6 separate regions of the Homo sapiens genome follow, and regions 2, 3, 4, 5 and 6 are each linked to region 1. Evidence: promoter capture Hi-C in 16 types of primary human blood cells and fetal thymus (Javierre and others, 2016). All regions are on one chromosome and are shown on one strand. Each heading gives the region's core, a stretch centred on a gene start or on the middle of the fragment in contact. The rest is flanking DNA. Distances are from core to core; before and after follow the strand shown. Region 1 holds the start of COTL1 (coactosin like F-actin binding protein 1). Region 2 holds the start of KCNG4 (potassium voltage-gated channel modifier subfamily G member 4). Region 3 overlaps LINC02176 (long intergenic non-protein coding RNA 2176). Region 4 overlaps HSDL1 (hydroxysteroid dehydrogenase like 1). Region 5 overlaps ZDHHC7 (zDHHC palmitoyltransferase 7). Region 6 has its middle 4.6 kb from the start of LINC02176.

Region 1 (3,554 bases), core at 369-2,868:
ACCACTGCACTCCAGCCTGGGCAAAAGAGGAAGATTCTGTCTCAAAAATAAATAAATAAATAAATAAATAAATAAGTAACCCACACCGTCTGGCTCAGGGTCCACGCCGTAACCTCCGGGCTGTGCTGCCGTTGTCCGAAAGCTTGCTTCCAACTAAAGACCAGAGATGGGAGGGAGTCGCATTCTCCAATCTCTTTAAAAGGTCCCATTACCAACATCACAGAGCCTCTGCCACTACCGAAGGGTTTATGGCGATGCCTGCCACGTGGTCTTTCTTTTCATGGTTCACAAGCCACAGGGAAGTGCCTAAGGCACACAAATCTTAAGTATACAGTCTGATGATTTTTCACGCGGGTACACACCTGCATAACCCCCTCCCAGATCAACAAATGTCTACAGAGACATTTTCAGCTCCCAGCAGTCCGGGTGGTGTGCCCCTCCCCATCAGTGGCTATCTAGCCCCAAAAGCTAATCTCGATTCTGACATTCACACCATAGATTAGTTTCGCCTTGTCTAGGATTTCTAAATGGAATCATATGGTGTGTACTCTTTTGCATCTGATTCTACTCGTCAAATTAAAAATCACATAAAATCAGCACACGGGCAGACAATGATAGCGGGAGAAAGGAGGGCGCGGCTGAGTTTCTTTCCCTTCCAAGCAGCCCCCTAGCCTGTTCGTATTTGGGCTCAGTGACTGATCAAAGGGGACAGTGGGAAGAGCTGGATGGACACTGGAGTTTGGAAACACAGGAGTTGACCTTAGAAAACCAGTGGACCGCAGGGGGCAAAAGAGCTGCCCCGCCTGGAGAAGGCATTGTAGGATGGCGGAGGCAGGTGGGTCACTTCTGTTGCTTCGGATGTCCAGAGGGGAGAAGGTTTTATGAGGCCTTAAAACGCTCACACCGGGTTCCTCCCACGCCATGCGCCAGGGGCACCCCATGTGGCCACCGGTTCCTCCCGGGTTCGCTCTGGCCGGGGCTCCCCGGGTGCAGACAACCTCCCAACGACCGCGCATCCGCCCGGCAGGCGCGCCTCCCTACCTGTGCACTGCTGGATGAAGTGCTGGTACTCCGCTCCCTGCTCGCCGGGGACGATGGTGGAGCCGTCATATTTAAAAGTCACCCTTTGGGTTGGGAGAAGAAAAAAACACACACACACATCAGCGCTGGTGGCCGCGCGACGCGGCGCTTGCAGAGGACAATCTAACAGACGCGCTGGCCACGGAGAAGCCCGCGGGGGCCTGGCACGCCGTCCCGGAATAAGGCGAGGAAGACAGCGCGGGAGGCCCGAATCCGTCCCGCCTGGAGGCCGGCTCGGTGCACGAGGCCCCGCGCGAGCCCGGGGAGCGGGGCGTGGAGACGAATGAAAAGTTCCTACCAGATGACGGCCGAGCCGTCGTCGCGCACCAGGTTGTACGCCGCCCGGCAAGCCTCTTTGTCGATCTTGGTGGCCATCGCCGCGGAGCCGCAGCGGGACACTGTCCGGGGCGGCCGAGCGCGCCCCTGGCCGGCGGCGGGGATGGGAGCGCGGCGGGTACGCGCCGAGGGCGCACGGGCTGGCGGCGGTGGCGACGGCTACGCGGCGCCTGCAAGCTGCGAGCGCGGCGGCGGCTTCCACTGCGGACGGAGAGCGCGCGGGGACCCCAGGCCGTGGCCCGCCCCGCCCCCCCGCGCCCATTGGCCGCCCAGGCGGCGGCCCGCCTCTTCATTGGCCGTCGGGCTGCGGGGGCGGAGCGTCTTGATTCTCTGGCGGCCAATCCCAGACCGGAAGGCTTGCGCAACTCCGCGGTGGGGGCTGGAGTAGGGGCTTTGCCTCCTCCCTCTCACTCTCCCTCCTCCCTCCCGCTCTCTTCTCCCCCAACATCCCTCTTCTCTCTCCTTCTCCTTCTCACTTCCCCTCCTCCCCTCCCGACCCCTCCCTGGAAACTCCCACTACCCCAACCCCCTTTCCCACCCCGCCTTCCTCCTCTCCCTCCTCCTTCCTCTTCTTCCCCCACTGCTTGCTTCCCCCACTTCCCTGACCTCTTCCCCCTCCCTTCCCTCCCCCTCTTTCTCCCTTCCCCCTTTATTCTTCTTCCTCTCTCCTCCTCCCTCTTCTTGCCTATCCCAGCCCAAAACTTCTCCATCCTCCCTATTTCCTTCTCCCCAAGCTCTCCTCTTTCCTCCTCCTTGACCCCCTCCCCTGCTGCCCCCGGCTTCGCCTCCCTCTTCTCCACTTACCCTCCTGGCATCTCCTCCCTCCCTGTCCCCTACTCCCTCCTCCTATTCCCCCTCTCCCCCTTCCTCATTCTCCCCACCCCCCTGCCCCTGAGGCTGCAGGGCTGCAGAGCTCCACAGGGGACCTCCACGTGGATGATGTAATGCGTCAAACCCAAGGAGACAGGCTGGCCACTGTCCCTACCCCAGCGTTTGGTTCCATGGATTCTAGGTGGGGAGGAACTGGAAAGAATGAAGCATTTTAAATAGGAGGGGGTAGAAAGTGGACTGCTTCCAAAACGCTGGTGGGCTCGCGTTTACTCTGGATTCTGGTCATTTGCATTCCTATCTTAACCTCTCCCTTTGGGCTCCTCTGAAAGCACGAGCTGACTCATTCTGTCTTCCTCATTCCTTCACTGACTCATTCATTCATTCCCTCATCCAGCCATTCCACAGAGACCAGTTACAGCGTCCAGGTAGGTAAAAAGGCAGGATCCTGAAGACTGGGCTCTTGAATTGCATCCAGTACTGCCACTTTCCAACTGGGGGCCATTGGAAAGCCTCAAAACCTCTTTTAAATGACTCCTCAAATGGGAAAAATAGTATAACTGACATCACTGCTTTGTTTTAAGTGTAATTGAAATGATACTTGGAACAAATATACTAGACATTCGATAAAATGTCATCATTGTTGGTTATTAAGTGATAAAAACAAATCCTAAATAGAAACCCAAAAGGTCAGGGACAATGTCCAATTAATGTTAGAATTCTCAACAAGCAAAAAAACAAAAACGAGAAATTGAATGAATCAATCAATCAGTCAATCAATGGGTAGTTGAATGGGTGGGTGGACAGGAACACAGTTTCAGAAGAGTAGAGGCAGATGCTGTTATAAATAAGACAAAAAGAAATTCACATTTCATACCCCACAAAGCCATTCCTACCTTACTCCTTGACAAGGGTAATGGGACAATTGGCCATTAGAAAGAAGAACAAAGGTGGATCCTTTGATCAGGGAAAATTCCAAAAGGATCAAAAATTTAAACACAAATAAAGGAAATCAGACCAGTCGCAGTGGATCACTCCTGTAATCCCAGCATTTTGGGAGGCTGAAGTGGGAGGATCTCATAAGCTCAGGAGTTCGAGACCAGCCTGGATAACAGGGGGAAAGCCCATCTCTACTAAAAATACAAAAATTAGCCAGGCGTGGTGGCAGACGACTGTAATCCCAGCTACTTGGGAGGCTGAGGCAGGAGAATCGCTTGAACCCGGGGCGGGGGGCAGAGGTTGCAGTGAGCTGAGATCGCACCATTGCACTCGAGCTTGAGCGATAAAGCGAGACTCTGTCTCAAAAAAAG
Region 2 (3,412 bases), core at 327-2,826, 380 kb before region 1:
GTGACTGCATCTGCATGGCTTGTTCTTTTAACCTTTAGTTCAACACATATTTATTGAGCACCTACTATGTGCTTGGGATACATCAGTGAAAAAAACCCTTCCCTGGTGGAACCTCTACCGACATCTCAGAAGGATGTCTCCAGAATAGACGTTGCACGGATGGGGGCTTGAGTAATTCAGTCCTGAGCTGGACAAGTCGGAGCGGTGCCACTTCTGGGCTCTGTGGTCTCAGGTATGTGGCTTAACCTCTCTGATCTCAGCATCATTCATTCAAATGACAAGACTCATACTAATCTTGCAAGGTACAGGTAGTAAAAATAGAGCTTAAGAATGTAGGCTCTCAGGTTCACTGGCAGGGACCGATCCCTTACAGACTGCCAGCACAGGTGGGTTACTCAGTGTCTCTGAGTCCTTTGCTTTATCTGTATGACTGGGGCAGTCTGAGTGCCCACATCGTAGGGCATGGCAAGGGTTATATGCAGTAATATACAAGAAAGTGTGTATTAATAATACTTCTAGATGCTTCTGACATGCCTGGCTTCCCCTAACTCACCTCAACAACCTCATGAAGTAGACATAAGAGCTCCACTTTATAGATAAGGAGGCTGACGCACGGAAGGTTTGCGTGTCTTGCCTACTGTTTAGCAAGCACCTGACATCAGGAAGGTTCAGCGAGGGTCTGTTATTAAAGGTTCGAGTAGCCCAGGAATGTGACTATGCTTAGCGAGCATCCAAGCATCTAGGTCTCAGGAGGAACTCCACCAGTCTCGCTTAATCCCTCTTGGTCGCTTCCCCATTTGGGGAGGCCTTTGCTAAGGGGACGGAGGAGCATTGCGTACTTGCAATCACAGTACTCCTCCATGTTCGTTGCGTGCTTGCCTCAGCCATCCTTGCTGTGTGACCTCCAGCCAGTTACTCCCCCTCTCTGGGCCCGCAGGCTTTTATGTGCAGAATGAAGGGGCCTCCAGCCGCAGTGGTTCATGCCTGTAATCCCAGCACTTTGCGAGGCAGAGGCAGGCAGATCATCTGAGGTCAGGAGTTCGAGACCAGCCTGGCCAATGAAACCCTGTATCTACTAAAAATACAAAAATTAGCTAGGCAAGGTGGCATGTACCTGTAGTCCCAGCTACTCGGGAGGCTGAGGCAGGAGAATCGCTTGAACCCGGGAGGCGGAGGCTGCAGTAAGCCGAGATTGCGCCATTGCACTCCAGCCTGGACAACAGAGCGAGACTCCATCTCAAAAAGAAAAAAACAAAAAAAAATGACGGGGCCTCTAATGCTGTCTCCATTTCAGACCTATATGAGGTGCTTGACTTAGTGTGAGTGTTTTAGATTTAGCCACTTCACATATTTAAAAAGTCCTTTTCATAATATTTCTCACCTTCAGATCCTGCAACCATTTCTTATGCTATTCATTCTAGCCAAAGCCATTTCCAAAGCATCTATAAGCTTACATTTTCAGATGCACTCCACTCCAATCAAGAGAAAAACTCGGCAGTGGAACGGAAATCAAAGTTCCTCTCAATTTCAGAGCCGGTTGGATTCCGGTGGATAGTGGAGAGTGAATCGTAACCTATTTCACACTCTTGCTCCCTACACAACATTCTGTTGCTCTGAATGCATTACTTTGCTCACAGGGAATGGCCAGAGGAGGATGAGGAGCCTGCAGAGAGAAGAGTATTTTGAAATCTGGGGAGCCCTTTGCAAGCTTCCTCATTTTCCCAGTGCAAAAACCAAGACCCAGCGAGCGGAAGTAACTTGTCCAAGGTCACACAGCAAATCCGAATCCAACCCAGCACTCTGTCCCCCAGCCTGGGGCTCCTTCCAGAACCTGAAAACTGCCCTTTCTGCATTCACTGAATAAACCCAATTTTGCCATCTACGGCTCTCCAAACAGCTGGCAAACAGCTCCTTCTGGAGCACGGGAAAGGAATTCACTCAAACCAGCACTTTTGCCAAGGATGTCTAACAGCGTCAACTTCCCCCTGGCCCCCGCCCACCCTACAGCAAGCAGTAACTCTTCCCCTCCAGTTTAACTCACCTTCTTGTCTCAGGGAGCCAGTTTCCAGCTGTTTCTCTGCCAGGCAAGGGGAGCCCATCTCTTGGTGCCCAGGGAAGGGACAGGTTTCTGGTGGAGATGAAGGGGAAGAAAAAAATCCCCAAAACAGCAGTTTCTAGCAGAGTCAGTTTCCAATCTTTCTTCCCGTGCCTCCTCCAGAAACCAGAAGTTCATTCATTCTGCATCTCTCTCTCCAGCAGCTGCAGGAGAGCCCTGGGGGATTGAGGTGGGATTTTTTTTTTTTTTTAAAGGACCCAGAAGTCCCTTTCCTTATGAGAGATGAGGGTCTGGGGGTTCTTGCTGGGAGGGAGCCAGGGCAGCTGTCCTGGTTGAGCAGCGGACTCTGCACTTCAAGTCCCACGGGGACAGCCAGTGTGGGGGGGTGTGGAATGGGAAGGGCTTAGAAATAATCTCTCCATCAGCCAGCAGCAGGAAGAAGCAGCAGCCGCTGCCACTCTGCCAACCGCCTAGGAGGCAAGGGGAGCTGTCCTCCCTCCTCTGGCATGGAGGAGCACAACTCGGGAGGAGCAGAGGGCAACTTGGGGCCGGAGGCATCTGCAGCTACCTGTCCCAGGCACCCCAGAGTCTCTCGGGGTATGCTGATGATGGTGACAGGCTCAAGTTGAAGCTGCAGGAGGAACTTTTTGCTGCTTTTAAGCAGCCCAGGCCTGGGACAGGTTCAGACAGAAGCCCAGGCTCTGAGCGCTGGGTGGGAGTCAGGGGGGCTGTGTTACAGAACAGCAATAGGAAGAGCTCCGAGCTTGGAATTCACACACATGCCTGGATCCTGGCTCCTATGTGAAAGGCTGGGTGACCTTGGCCAGGTGAGTTAGTGCTTCTGAGCCTCAATTGTCTTGTCTCTAAAACATGGGAATGAGAGAGGGTTCAGGGAAGGTCAGAACCATAAGTGCAAGCTCCTGTGCTGGTTGGATGGTTGGGTGGGTGAAAAGGAAGAGGCATCAGTCCAGGGCCTGGGTGTGAACTTGGACTCTGCACTGCCTGGCTGTGTGTTCTTGGTCAGTCACTTCCCCTCTCTGGGCCTTGGGTTTCTCAGTCAAATGAGGACAGTGAAACCAGCGATGGCTGCAATTGTAAAACCAGCATCTTGTAGTTGCTCACTACACGTTGACTGTTCTTCACTTTCTTAAGAGGTTTTGCAGCCCAGGCTCTTGGCTTCTGAATGTGTTATCTTCACTGCATTTGATAGTTGAGGCCCTGAGAAGAGGCTTGCTCAAGGTCATCTTGCTGGTTAGAACCATCACTTAGGCCGGGTGTGGTGGCTCACAGCTGTCATCCCAGAACTTTGGAGGCGGAGGCGGGCAGATCACAAGGTCAGGAGTTTGAGACCAGCCT
Region 3 (3,297 bases), core at 414-2,913, 320 kb after region 1:
GACAAGCAGGAACTGAACACACACAGCCCTGCCCACCCGGCGCTGACAGCAGGAGAGACAGACCATGCGACTATCGAAGAAACCAGAGCCAGAAAATAGGTGAGCAGTAAAAGCAGATTTTATTGAGGAACTGTTGAAATGAGAGAAGAGACCTCGGTGTAGACCTGGGCTCTGGTCTGAATACAGCGGTGATGAGTGGGGATGTCACCTGGAGCAGAGGTTCAGTGGATGGAAAATGGCTAAGAGGAGGTCAGGCGCAGTGGTTCATGCCTGTAATGCCAGCACTTTGGGAGGCCGAGGCAGGTGGATCACTGGAGGTCAGGAGTTCAAGACCAGCCTGGCCAACATGGTGAAACCCTGTTTCTACTAAAAATACAAAAATTAGGCAGGCTTGGTGGGACACACCTGTAATCCCAGCTACTTGGGAGGTTGAGGCAGGAGAATCGCTTGAACCTGGGAGGCGGAGGTTGCAGTGAGCTGAGATCGCGCCACTGTGCTCCAGCCAAGGTGATAGCGCGAGACTCCGTCTCAAAAAAAGAAAATGACTAAGAGGAAGCATTAGGTGTGGGGGGAAGTTCTGGCTAAACCGATGGAACAGGACTCTCGCCGAAGGCAGGCCAGGTGAACAGACACCCCCGAGGGGCAGTGCCAGGCGAGGAACTGCTCACGCGTCGGGGGTCGGGGAGTTTTCCTAATTGACTCTGGGTTCTTGCTAAAACTGGAAAAAGCCAAGACAAGTGCAGAAGCCCCCAGGCCAAGGCCTCCTGGAGAAGAGGGTTTGGAGGAGCCTGACCAAAGCTTGATCGAGGAGAGGGTCTTTGTCATGATTACTGGGGGCTCTGACCCCGTTTAGGAAGACGGGGACTGTGCCCATGAGATCTGAAGGGGGAAGGGCGTTCTTGAGGCAAGAAGGCTGGGGTGGAATTCCAGACAAAGGCAACAGCACAGGGGCAGGGTGAGTCCAGGTCTGGAGAGATGGCCTGCGGCGAGGCCCCATGCATCCCAGGGAAGGTTCCGGAACACCCTGCACACGCACAGTCTCCACCATCCTCTCTAGGCCTGGCCTCGCATCAGACAGGGCCCTTGTGAGAGCTGCCTCAAATGTGACATTTCCACCAGAGCCCCGGCCCCCGTGCCCGCCTTGCCAGCCTCGGCCTGTGGGGGCTGCCACTCTCCACAGGTCCTCGTCCCTGTCGGCCGAGGGCAGCATTCCCGCAGCGGGGAACGATCAGCAGAGATTGGGAAATAGGGTAACTTGTTCCAGATGTCCGGAGCAAATCCAGGCCTGGCTTCTCTAAGGGACTGTTTGGCTTTCTGAAGTTTACAAACAGCAGGATGAGAGGCCCCTCCTGAGAGGCGGCCAGGACCCCCCGTGTGTGATCATGTGCGTGAGGGGGGCTCAGGGCTGCGGAATGCCATCCAGTGTCACCTGAAGTCCACACACACAGCCTGGGGCCCACGTCCACGCTTCCCCACCCAGGGATGCCGGCCTTGGGAAACCCCCTGTAGGACCAGCTGCCCCCGGCCTCTGGAGGCGTTTGGCAGGTGGGAGGTGTCTGCAAGAGACTGGAGAGGGCTGGAGGAGCTGAGTCGCATCCACTCCCCCAATTCCCTCTCTGCAGGGCCGCATGGGCCAGCTGCGTCCCGTGTCCCCAACCTTACCCTCGGGCCTCAGTGCTGGGCGCTCCTGCCGTTGCCGGCCCTGGTGCTGCCCGTGCGCCGCCTGCGGTGTCCCGGAGCCCACGCATCCCTGCACCTTTGAGCACAGTCCTTTTCCTGAGCGCTCCCTAAATTATCCCAACTCAAGTGTGACTTCGGGGCCTGCTCTTCCCAACCCCCTTCCCCAGTAAGTGGCTTTTGCCTGTGCCTTGATGAACACCTGAAGCGAGACCCAGAGACGCTCAACTCCCCGACAGCCCTGGTTCCAAACCGGAGCTGCAGCAGTTGCTGAGCGCGGCTCCTTCACGCCTTCCTGCCGTGAGCGTTCCTCACCGCCGAGGCTTCCTCCTCCTGCTCCCAAACCGTGTCCACTTTTAGGAGGGGACTTTCTAGAACGTGCTTCCGAACGGTACCTATGTGATGAGGGGCTGAGCATGAAATAAAGACAAGGGCATGAGTGTAGAGGCCAGGCAGACCTGACTCGCCCCTCACTCCCCAGGACCCGGACCTCTCTGGATCTGCATCCTCCCCCTAGTAAAATGGGAGACACACCGCTATCCAGACAACTGGGATTCCTGGACCAGACTTTTCTTTTGAGGTGAGCACACCCGCCCCGCAACCCAGATGGACTAGGGTGACCTTCTCCCCACCCCACTCGCACCTCAACAGGCACATTTCCCCATCTGCCCTTGGGCTGAGTGACACAGTGGCTGGGCCAGGGATGGTTTGACACCGCAGGACATGTCAGCGTATTTTTCCAACATACTCTCCGCCTGACTCATTCAGTGGGAGACACTCACATGAGCTCCCCGCCCGAGAGGCCCTCTGGCACCGCAGACCCAACACATAAACAGGTCCTCTCTCCTTCCAGAAGCTTCTGGAGCCCATTGTGCTTTAGATTCATCCACCCTTCCTCCAGACGCTGGGCATCTCTCTCCTCTCCTCTCCTGCTGACCCCACCATTCGGATGGCGCCTGTCACCCTAACTGTCTGCACACCCCAGGTTCCTCCCCACCCCACCCCTCTGCCCTCCTTTTTGTCTGATTTGCCAACTGGTCCTCCTGGTTCTGCCTTGTCCACTGTGGTGTTTTGTTTTTAGGGTTTTAAAACTAATTTATTTAGGTGAAATCATATAACATAAAAATAACCATTTTAAAGTGATCAATTAATTGGCATTTGGTACTTTTTTTTTTTTTTTTTTTGCAGCCTCAACCTCTTAGGCTCAAGCAATCCTCCCACCTCGGCCTCCTAAGTAGCTGGGATTATAGACACATGCCACCACGCTTGGCTGACATTTTGTAGAGACAGGGTTTTGCCATGCGTCCCTGGCTGGTCTTGAACTCTTGGGTTCAAGACATCTGCCCGCCTTGGCCTCCCAAAGCACCAGGATTACAGGCATGAGCTACTGCCCCCAGCAGCATTCAGTACATTTACAGTTTTGTACAACCAGCACCCCTATCTAGCTCCAAAACACTTCCCTCATCCCACAGTGAAACCCCAAACCCATTAAGCAGTTTCTCCTAATTTCTGTCTCCCCCAGCTCCTGGCAGCCTCCAGTCAGCTTTCTGTCTCTATGGACTGGCCTGTCCTAGACATTCCTTATCAATGGAGTCACACAGTATGTGGTCATTTCGTCTG
Region 4 (3,287 bases), core at 544-3,043, 480 kb before region 1:
GGTCAGGCTGGTCTTGAACTCCTGACCTCAAGTGATCCACCCACCTCGGCCTCCCAAAGTGCTGGGATTACAGGCGTGAGCCACTGCACCTGGCAAAAATGTTTAAATATATACAAAAGTATGTAAAACCTATTATGCACAGTTCAAAGAATAATAAAACAGCCACTTAGCCACCAGCCTACTTAACAAAACCAGTGTCGTGGAAGTCCTGTATGCTGTTCCTCTGATTACAGCCCCTCCTCTATCCTGGAGGCAGCCTCTCTCCTAAATTCTGGGGTAGTCACTCCCTGACTCTTTTAACAAAACAGCTGTATACCCCAAGCATGTATTCTGAAACAGTAACAGTATTGCTGGCCGGGCGCGGTGGCTCACGCCTGTAATCCCAGCACTTTGGGAGGCCGAGGCGGGCGGATCACGAGGTCAGGAGATCGAGACCACGGTGAAACCCCGTCTCTACTAAAAATACAAAAAATTAGCCGGGCGCAGTGGTGGGCGCCTGTAGTCCCAGCTACTCGGGAGGCTGAGGCAGGAGAATGGCGTGAACCCGGAAGGCGGAGCTTGCAGTGAGCGGAGATCGCGCCACAGCACTCCCGCCTGGGCGACAGAACGAGACTCCGTCTCAAACAAAAAAAAAAACAGTATTGCTAAGTTTCGCCTGGTTTTGAACCTCACATAAAGGAACCACACCACATGGACCCTTTGGTGACTTGTTTCTTTCACTCAACATCATTCCCGAGACTCATCCATGCCCCTGCAGCTATATAGTCCATCCTCCTCGGCAGCTGCACAGTATCTCACGGTTCAGATGCACTGCAGTTCACAGGTCCCCCTGCTGCTGGTTCAGATACACCACGATTCACAGGTCCCCCTGCTGCTGGTTCAGATACACCACGATTCACAGGTCCCCCTGCTGCTGGTTCAGATACACCACGATTCACAGGTCCCCCTGCTGCTGGTGCTAGGCACGTGCACTGTTTCTGCTGGTTTTGATTTACAGTTAGGAACAGTGCTGCAGGGAGCGCTTGTCCCCATCTCCTGCACACCTGTGCAAGAGTTCGCAAAGGGATTTGCCCATGGTTTAACTGCTGGTCCACATGCATTCCACTGCCAAATGCTTTTGCAAAGCGGCAGAACCCATTCACACTCCCGCCAGCAGCAGGTTCGTGCCACTCCTCAATGTCACTGGCTGGTAGCGTCCAAAGCTTCACCTTCTGCCAACAGGGTGGCTGTGAAATGGTATCTCATTATGGTTTTAATTTACATTTCCCTGGTTACTAGTAAGGCTGCAGTCCTTTTTATATGTATGTGCTTTCTGTGTTTTGTAATCTATGAAATGCCCGTTCCTATCTTTTGTCCTTTCCTTTTTTTTCTCTCAGAATTGTAAGAATTCTTTAAATATTCTAGATACTAGCTCTCTGTATGTTTTGTGTCTCATTATAGTGTCTTTCATGAACTAAATGTGTTGTTATTATTATTGAGACAAGGTCTGGCTCTATTGCCCAGCCTGATGTGCAGTGGCATGATCACAGCTCACTGCAACCTCCGCCTTCCGGGCTCAAGCCATCCTCCCACCTCAGCATCTCAAGTAGCTGGGACACAGGCATGTACCACCAAGCCCAGTTAAATTTTTTTTGTGTGTGTAGAGATGAGGTTTCACCATGTTGCCCAGGCTGGTCTCAAACTCGTAAGCTCAAACCATTCACCTGCCTTGGCCTCCCAAAGTGCTGGGATTACAGGTGGGAGCCACTGCACCTGGCTGAATGTCTTAATTTTGAAAGAGACAAATATATCAATCTTTCTGCTTTAGGGTTTGTTTTATTTCAGAAATCCCTCCTTAGCCTCAGGTCATGAAGAAATTTTTTCGAATTATTTTCTAGAAATTTTACATTTTTGCTTTTTCAGTTTAAGTCTTTAATCCTCCTGGCGTTTTGTGATGGTGTGAGGCTGGGATCTCACACATCTTTTTTTTTTTTTTTTTTTTTTTGAGACAGAGTCTCACTCTGTCACCCAGGCTGGAGTGCAATGGCGCGATCTTAGCTCACTGCAACCTCCTCCTTCCAAGTTCAAGCAATTCTTCTGCCTCAGCCTCCCAAGTAACTGGGACTACAGGCGTGTGCCACCATGCCTGGCTAATTTTTGTATTTTTTTCTTTTTTAGTAGAGACGGGGGTTTCACCATATTGGCCAGGCTGGTCTTGAACTCCTGACCTTGTGATCCGCCCACTTTGGCCTCCCAAAGCACTGGGATGTGACCGGCCGGATCTCACACATCTTTAATATTCCTCCTCAGCACCTGACATGCTGCTGTAGACAACTTTATTTAATAAACAGAATCAAATACTGCTTTGTGTTCAAAGCTCAAATTTCACTCTTGAGAAAAAAACTTAAGCTTTTCATACTCTGCGTCAGCACTATGACAAAGTTAGCATTGGTGTATCAAGACTTTTTGGGATGTCTTTACCTTCACTGCCAATTTTTGGTATAGGACTAAACGCACAATGAAGCTGAGCCTAAAGAGCAGCAACATGGAATTAGAAACCTGGATTCTCATCCAAGATCCAACACTCTTCACCATCATGTCTGTATTTATGCAGTAAGAATTAAAATATTCAGAGTACCCCACTCCTAGGCAGATACCCAAGATAATTAGAAACTTTTGCTCACATAAAAACTCCTGCTTGCATGTTCACAGTGGCCTACTCACAACTGCCAGAAGGCAGAAACAAACAAAATGTCCATCAACAAATGAATGAATAAGCAAAATGTGGTGTTATCCACACAAAGGAGTATTATTCAGCCATAAAAAAGCATGAAGTACTGATACATACTACAACATGGATAAACTTTGAAAACATTATGCTAAAGGACAGAAACCAAATACAAAAGGCCGTATGTTGTATGTTTCCACTTGTATGAAATGTCCAGCATAAGCAAATCCATAGAGACAGAAGATAACTTAGGGCTGCTGAGGGACAGGGGGAGAAAAGAGGTATGACTGTTAATGGGGTTGGGGTTTCTTTTGTAGGTGATTAAATGTTCTGGAATTAGTTACTGGTGATGGTTGCATAGCATTGTGACTATAGCAAGAACTACTGAGTTATACACTGTAAAATGGCTAAAATGATAAATTTTATGTCATGCGTAAGTCATTTCGATTTTTGAAAACCTACTTTAAAAAAAAGTAGCACCAATATGTTCAACTCTGTTGCCCTAGAATATTCCAGCAGTGATTAAAACCACAAACTTGGCCGGGTACAGTGGCTCATGTCTGTAACCCCAGAACTTTGG
Region 5 (3,662 bases), core at 76-2,575, 380 kb after region 1:
GCCGAATGAACATGTGGTGAGGATTCATTCGCCAAATACTTTAAAAAATTTCCTCTCGATGCAAAAATGCTGACTGGTACAAGAGCAAAATGAAATTGTTTTCCAAAGTCAGTAAAATAGCCCTATTTTTCAATCAGATAAAAGCAGCTTTAAAAAATGTTTAAGGCTGGGTGCAGTGGCTCAAGTCAGCACTTGGGAGACTGAGGCAGAAGGATCATTTGAGCCCAGAAGTTTGAGATCAGCCTGGGCAACAGAGTAAGACCTCATCTCTACAGAAAATAAAAATTAACCAGGCATGGTGGCTTGCGCTTATAGTCCCCCCTACTAGGGAGGCTGAGGGGGGAAGATTGCTTGAGCCTGGGAGGTGGAGGCTGCAGTGAGCCATGATCATGCCACCGCGCTCCAGCCTGGATGACAGAGAGATCCTGTCTCAAAAAATAAAAATAAATAAATACATGCTTAAGGCTGAGTGTGGTGGCTTACACCTGTAATCTCAGCACTTTAGGAGGCCAAGGTGGGAGGATCTCTTGAGCCCAGGAGTTTGAGACTGGCCTGCGCAACATGGGAAGACCCAATCTCTACAAAACAAAATTGTTTTTTTTTTTTATAGTCAGGCATGGTGGCACACACCTATAGTCCCAGCTGTTTGGGGGACTGACGTGGAAGGATCGCATGAGACTGGCAGGTTGAGGCTACAGTGAGCCACAATCCCACCACTGCAGTCCAGCCTGGGCAACAGAGTAAGTAAGACCCAATGTCAAAAAAATTGTTTTAATTAAAAAAACTTTTAAAAATAATCATTTGAGTGAAATAGAAAAAACTAAAGATCAAAAGAATTTGGACAGACCCCTTAGCCAACCATTCCTTCAGCATTTTCTGAACCTACATCTTCTGCATCTGTCTGCTCAACATCCCCTGCAAACACCTTTGCAGCACCATTGCCTCTACATAAACCTCATTCACCCTGCAGGGCCTAACTTTTCTCTCTTCTAGGCAAGCCAACCTGAAAAGGGAGTTCTCTTCTTCTGAGGAGCACTTTGCGAAGAGGTCTCTAGACATCAGATGTGACTATCCGGAGATAAAGGCTGAAACTGCTTCTGCCTGCACTACTAGTAAAGCCTGACTGTCAGGGGGCTGAGAAAGTACCTGGAAGTTTCTCTGCCTCCGCTGAAGCCCTGGGCACGCTCACCAGCTCTCCCTCCCAGGTACTTACCACTTGCTACCTGAGAGCTCTTGCAGGTCCGACCTCCCGGCCTGATGTCAGCCCCTCCAGGGGGGTCTGGGTCTCCTCCTGCCCTGTCCCCCTCATGCCTTGCATGCTGTCTGGCGCACAGCAAGGGCATGTTTGCTAAAAGGCAGATGCAACAAAAAGCAAGCAGTCCCTCTCTCAGATTCCAATCACCTCCTGCTGATTTCCATCTAAGTTTCTTGGTGAATCGTTATCTGTGGGCCCAGGTACATCAAGGCCGTAAGCTGAAAAATTCCTCTGAGCAGAACCATTTTGCTTTATGGTGACTTCTCTAATAGGACACGTTCCATGAGAAAAGGAAGGGTGCTTTCCAGGCAGTAAAACAAGCTATACTTTTGTCAGAGCACAATGTTTGGGCAGTCTGAGCTCTCTCCAGAAAGCAGGGCCTCTTGAAAGTCTTCTAAAGGCACACATGTGACACCTGAGCCAGCTCAGCTCCGCCTTCCTGGTTCAGGTCCTGGTAAGACCTCCACGGAGTGCAGGATGCTGCTGTGGCTCCATGCCTGACCTGGGGGTGCGGATGGCAGGCACAGCTGTGTAAGGAGAGCGCCCACAGACACCAAACACTGGCCATGGCAGGACGTTCCTATAAGCACATATTAGGGTGACATATCATACTTGAGGGCTTTAGTGCCATATCTGTAAGATCCATTAGAAGTCAACAGGAAAATAACATGAAATCCAAAAACTGCTTTATTTTCAACAAAGCAACAAACGAATATAGCAAAGTTAGGCTGGACAAATACAGCTCTCAGTAACACAGTGCACTCACTCGTGTCTCTGAGTCACTGTATTTACACTTGAGTAATGCAACAGGAAGGGAGGGGAAGAAATGAAGAAACCATTCCTTTACATGGAAGCTAATCTAAAAGCAAACAGCACAGCCATTTGAGATGCGGTATTAAAATGTACACATTCCTTAGGAGCAAGGGCACAGCCTTATTCTGCACTGAATTCCAAAACCACCGTTGACTTCATACTCAAGACAGTTTCTGAGGGAACCGTGAAACACTGGGCACTCTCACACAGATGCCCCAGCATCACTCTTCTACCCTAATGGCCGATTTAATGGGATTTTCTCAACACTCCCGAACCTAAGCTCTTTCTCGGCATGTTAAATAAAGCCCTGTTTCCCAGAACACCAAAAGCAACACTACAAATCTCCATATTTAAAGGGACAACCACACAAGCAAAAACTTTCCGTTTCAGGCCGGGCACAGTGGCTCACGCCTGTAATCCCAGCACTTTGGGAGGCCAAGGCGAGTGGATCACTTGTGGTCAGGAGTTCAAGACCAGCCTGGCCAACATGGTGAAACCCCGTCTCTACCAAAAATATAAAAATTAGCCGGGCATGATGGCGGGTGCCTGTAATCCCAGCTACTAGGGAGGCTGAGGCAGAAGAATCACTTGAACCTGGGAGACAGAGGTCGCAGAGAGCCAAGATCACGCCATTGCACTCTAGCCTAGGCAACAGACTGAGACTCCATCTCAAAAAAAACAGACAAAAAAAACCAAACCACTTTCCATTTCAGGTGGAAAGCGGGGTATTCCCCTCATCTTGTGATACTGGCCAAGAACTCATCAATTCAATTCATGGAGTCCCCTCCACAGATACACCCTCCTTTTAGGACCGGAAGGCAGCGGGTGAAAAGGAAGGCGTGCCTGTCAGCTTGGCACCACGCCTCTGCTTTGCCACATGCACAGGTTACCTTTTTAGTAATATACAAGCTAGTGTCAGCTGTGAGAAAGGAAACAGTGATTGGACCCTAAATAATCACACTCTTACCTCACAAGTTATTTCTAAACATCACTTGAACATTTTGTGCCGTTTCTTCAGGATCTTAAGGTGCATACTGTCCTATGTGATCGGATCTGAAAGGTAATAAAATCTGATTAGAAAAAGTGATTTATTTTATGACAGACGTGTGTCATATTTCTTAGGGTATGATTAATTTTTGGAGCGTAACATTTGACGCATCAAGTTCTGTCACTCAGAACTATCCTTAAGTATGAAATCATTGCTCTTCTAAGTTTTGATTACTAGGTAAATTCACAATCCTGGAAATCAAGTAATTTATTTTAAATATTTCCATTTACCCTCCTGCTCTTTTAGCCCCAGTGTTAAATACAGATCTATAAGCTAAAATCCCTCCAGAAAAATCCCCTAGGGCAGACCAAATCTGGGTAGCCTGCACTTCTACCGTCGATAAGCTGATTTACTGGCCACATTAAAGGAATCACAGAACAGAGAGACAGAGCACTTGAGGCAGGAGGGGTGGACTAGAATGGCAGGCCCTGCTGTGGGAGGGGCGAGGAGGTGAAGGAAGACAGTGGAACCCAGTGAGGGCCACTCAATGAGAGCAGAGACTCCTGGCACGCATCTCCCACGTAGCTCCCCGAACCCTGACAGATG
Region 6 (3,196 bases), core at 403-2,902, 310 kb after region 1:
ACCACTGCACTCCAGCCTGGGTGCCAAGATCACACCACTGCACTCCAGCCTGGGTGACAGAACGAAAGCTTGTCTCAAAAAGAAATAAATAAAGAGGCAGGACCAGGACTTGAATCCACATCTGTGTCACTTCAGAGGCCCCGTGTGCCCTTTCATCCAAACCAGTGGGTCTCCCGCCAGCCGCCCACAAGTCCCTGGAAACGTCTAAGCATCTGCGCCCCACCTTCGGGGACTCGGCTACAATCTAAGCTGAGTGCCCATGCATGGAGGACCCAGCTCTTCTGCCTCAACTAAATCAATAGTACCAGTAGAAGTATCGTAGTAATAATAGTAACTGTACTGATAACAATGGCAGTCGTGACAGCAACCGTAGTAGTGGAGGTAGTAGTAGTAATAGTGCTATGAGTGGAAGCAGTTGGATTTTGTTGGGGGTTGCCTGGTATTGGAAGCTGCCTCTCGCTGCCCTACACCAGGGGTTCTCCTGCACCGGCCTGGATCGAAATCCCTTGATGGGCTCTTAAAAATATAGATTGCCAGGCCCAGCCCCAGAGCATCTGACTCAGGAGTTCTGGGGTGGGGCCTGAGAACCTGCATTCTAACAAGCCCCAGGGGATGCTGATTGGGCTGACCCAGGAACCCCGCTTTGTGAGCCGCTGCTCTGGGCCAGTCCTTCCTCCCTGGAGGAAACTCTGTCATGTACACAAGCGCATGTTCATTCAACCCTCACTCAGCACTCAGCACGGGCCAAGTGCTGTGCTAAGCACAGAGGGTGACAAGGCAAAACAGACAAGTCCTTGCCCTTGGAGAGCTTCAGTCCCATCGTCTGCTCTTCTGGCTTTGACAGCAGGGACCCTCTGGGGCTGAGAGGGGCCTTGGGGAGTAGATAAGATGCCTGTTGGCGGGAGAGGACCTGCCTGCCCTGGGAAAGGCTCAGTTTGTTCTTGGTCCTTCAGCGAATCCATTGTCCAAACCTCCCCTCTAAACCAGTTACATAAGTGTTCCCTGAGGTCCGGAAACTTCCAGATGGCCCCGCGGCCCACCCCACCAGCTGGTCCTGGGATGTCAGCTCCGGTCGCTTCCCGGGCCCTGGAATTCCCAGAGCAGCCAGACACAAAGCAGCTGTCTAAACGTCAGGAAGGCCAGGCACGCCGAGTGTGAGACGGGCTGACAATAGCCTGTGTGTACTCCTGGCCCCTCTCCAACAGCAGCTGGGCCCAGAGGGCGGTGGGGGCACCAGTGCCAACAAGGACGGAGCAGGGTCCCCATGACCCCAAACATCTGGGCCCCCAGCACACACCAGCTGTCCATCAGCCCCAGAGGGAGGTGCGCCAGCAACCTCCACCTTAGCCAGAACAGTCCACCCTGTCCCTGCCTTTCTGCTTGGACACATTCCTGGTCACTTCTGGTTGACAAACCTCCCCCCACCTGCTCCCAAGCCATCCTCAGCATATCAGGGAACCACCAGGGGCATCAGAATCACTCAGAAAATGTGTCTAGAATGCCCATTCCTGGGCCCCATCCACAGTCTAATCCCATAGGTCTGAAAGCCGGCCCAGGAGTCTTTAGTTTTACAAAGTCCCAGGCAACTTTGATGCAGGAGTTCCTCAGGCCATACTTTGAGAAACACTGACACATTATATGACATATGATCTATATGCAAGGGAGAATATTTTATATCTATATATGGTTGTCCATATCTACCGCCTGTCTACTTACCTATAGACAGATGATGGATGATAGATGCCGACGTATCCCAGGACACTCAAGTCTCCACCTCACCTTCACATGGCTTTCTCCCCTTGTTTCCTAGAAGGACACCTGTCACTGAATGTGGGGCCCACCCTAGTCAAGAATGATCCCACCTCGTGGATCACAAGGTCAGGAGATCAAGACCATCCTGGCTAACATGGTGAAACCCCGTCTCTACTAAAAATACCAAAAAAAATTAGCCAGGCCTGGTGACGCGCGCCTGTAGTCCTAGCTACTCCGGAGGCTGAGGCAGGAGAATGGCGTGAACCTGGGAGGTGGAGCTTGCAGTGAGCCAAGTTTGTGCCACTGCACTCCAGCCTGGGCGACAGAGCGAGACTCTGTCTCAAAAAAAAAAAAGAAAAAAAAAAAAAAGAATGATCCCACCTCAAAATCCTTAACTTCTTAACACCTGCAAAGACCCTTTCCCCAGATGAGGTCCCAATCGTAATTCTTTGAGGTTAGTATGTGGACGGATCTTTTTGAAGATTCAAACTAGTACAATGGTATGTTATAAACTAATAGTTTATATTAGTTTAATGTAAACTATTCTAAAGAATATAGATATTCTCCTTGAAAATTGGATCTCGCCAGGCATGCTGGCTCACGTCTGCAATCCCAGCACTCAGGGAGGCAGAGGCAGAAGGGTCACTTGAGCCCAGGAGTTCAAGACCACCCTGGAGAACATAGGGAGACCCCATCTCTGCAAAAATAACAGGGGGGAAAAACAAGTTTGAAAATTGGACTTCAAGCAAAAAACACAGGAAAGACATTTGAATTCAAGTCCCCCAGAGGACACAGCCTCAGGCTGCCTCTGGGCCCCTCTTCAAAGTGGGCGGGCTTTGCACTACAGCCAAGCAGAGCAGCCAATCAAATGGTTAGATTTTTCTTAAAGGTCACAAACCTTCCGTTATGGTCTGCTTGTAAGCCCCGTGCATGCTTCACGCCCTCGCGATTTCTCTCCTTCCATCCCCGGCCTCTCCACCCCACTCCTTTCCTGGCCCCTGCTAACTGGCTGACCTTGGACCTCTTCCCTTCTGCCCGGGCTCCCTCTCCCCCGCAGTCATCCCATCCCTTGCGTTACACGCCATCTGCATGTGTGCCCCCTGCCCCACGCCACGTCTTCAGCTCTTGCCTCTCTGAGGCCCAGATCCACAGAGCCCACTGGCCAATGGCCATCTCCACGCCTTGGCTGATGCCTCTTACCCTGTCTGGGCTTCCATTGCCTGGCATGTAAAGCAATGATGACTTTGGAGGGCCACTGTGCACGTGCAGGAGGCGACAGCAAAGACGCTCAGCACGTGGTAAGCGCTGAAGGTCTGAGGATGGTGTCTTCTAAAGCAGCATGCAAACAGCACGGCCGCTCCCCTCGAGGGGGAGGAGCCTTTGGGAAGCAGGCCCGTGGCCAGGTCCTCCCAGGTTCAGGGGTCAGGGTACACAGCTGTTCAGC

What was found. The method cuts DNA at HindIII sites, captures the fragments that hold promoters and counts their contacts. A CHiCAGO score of 5 or more calls a contact.
Region 2: a fragment that was not itself captured here is called in contact with the fragment with the promoter of COTL1 in region 1 in 1 of 17 cell types (M1 macrophages); the score reaches 5.6 in M1 macrophages.
Region 3: a contact is called between a fragment that was not itself captured here and the fragment with the promoter of COTL1 in region 1, in 3 of 17 cell types (M0 macrophages, activated CD4 T cells and endothelial precursors). The highest score is 7.3, in M0 macrophages.
Region 4: a contact is called between a fragment that was not itself captured here and the fragment with the promoter of COTL1 in region 1, in 1 of 17 cell types (naive CD8 T cells). The highest score is 5.1, in naive CD8 T cells.
Region 5: a fragment that was not itself captured here is called in contact with the fragment with the promoter of COTL1 in region 1 in 2 of 17 cell types (neutrophils and monocytes); the score reaches 6.0 in neutrophils.
Region 6: a contact is called between a fragment that was not itself captured here and the fragment with the promoter of COTL1 in region 1, in 1 of 17 cell types (M0 macrophages). The highest score is 5.9, in M0 macrophages.

Annotation. Positions count from the first base shown.
Region 1 is chr16:84,616,460-84,620,013 of GRCh38, forward strand. COTL1 (coactosin like F-actin binding protein 1) reads right to left here and starts at 1,619. Exons shown (of 4, transcript NM_021149.5): 1 at 1,379-1,619; 2 at 1,042-1,124. The coding sequence starts at 1,455. RefSeq lists silencers at 1,448-1,497, 1,518-1,877. The HindIII fragment of the contact is 6,545 bases long and covers 141-3,554 here.
Region 2 is chr16:84,237,629-84,241,040 of GRCh38, forward strand. KCNG4 (potassium voltage-gated channel modifier subfamily G member 4) reads right to left here and starts at 2,384. Exons shown (of 3, transcript NM_172347.3): 1 at 2,042-2,384. The HindIII fragment of the contact is 259 bases long and covers 1,448-1,706 here.
Region 3 is chr16:84,939,701-84,942,997 of GRCh38, forward strand. LINC02176 (long intergenic non-protein coding RNA 2176) reads left to right here. Exons shown (of 4, transcript XR_933830.2): 3 at 2,159-2,257; 4 at 3,200-3,297. Among named protein-coding and RNA genes, the nearest start is that of LINC02176, 13 kb to the left of the region's middle. The HindIII fragment of the contact is 1,735 bases long and covers 797-2,531 here.
Region 4 is chr16:84,140,470-84,143,756 of GRCh38, forward strand. All of the region lies in intron 1 of HSDL1 (hydroxysteroid dehydrogenase like 1), which reads right to left. Among named protein-coding and RNA genes, the nearest start is that of HSDL1, 3.1 kb to the right of the region's middle. The HindIII fragment of the contact is 1,186 bases long and covers 1,201-2,386 here.
Region 5 is chr16:84,992,887-84,996,548 of GRCh38, forward strand. It overlaps ZDHHC7 (zDHHC palmitoyltransferase 7), which reads right to left. Exons shown (of 8, transcript NM_017740.3): 2 at 3,036-3,121. Among named protein-coding and RNA genes, the nearest start is that of ZDHHC7, 17 kb to the right of the region's middle. RefSeq lists an enhancer at 1,735-2,235. The HindIII fragment of the contact is 8,914 bases long and covers 1-3,662 here.
Region 6 is chr16:84,921,827-84,925,022 of GRCh38, forward strand. No RefSeq gene overlaps it. Among named protein-coding and RNA genes, the nearest start is that of LINC02176, 4.6 kb to the right of the region's middle. The HindIII fragment of the contact is 3,173 bases long and covers 67-3,196 here.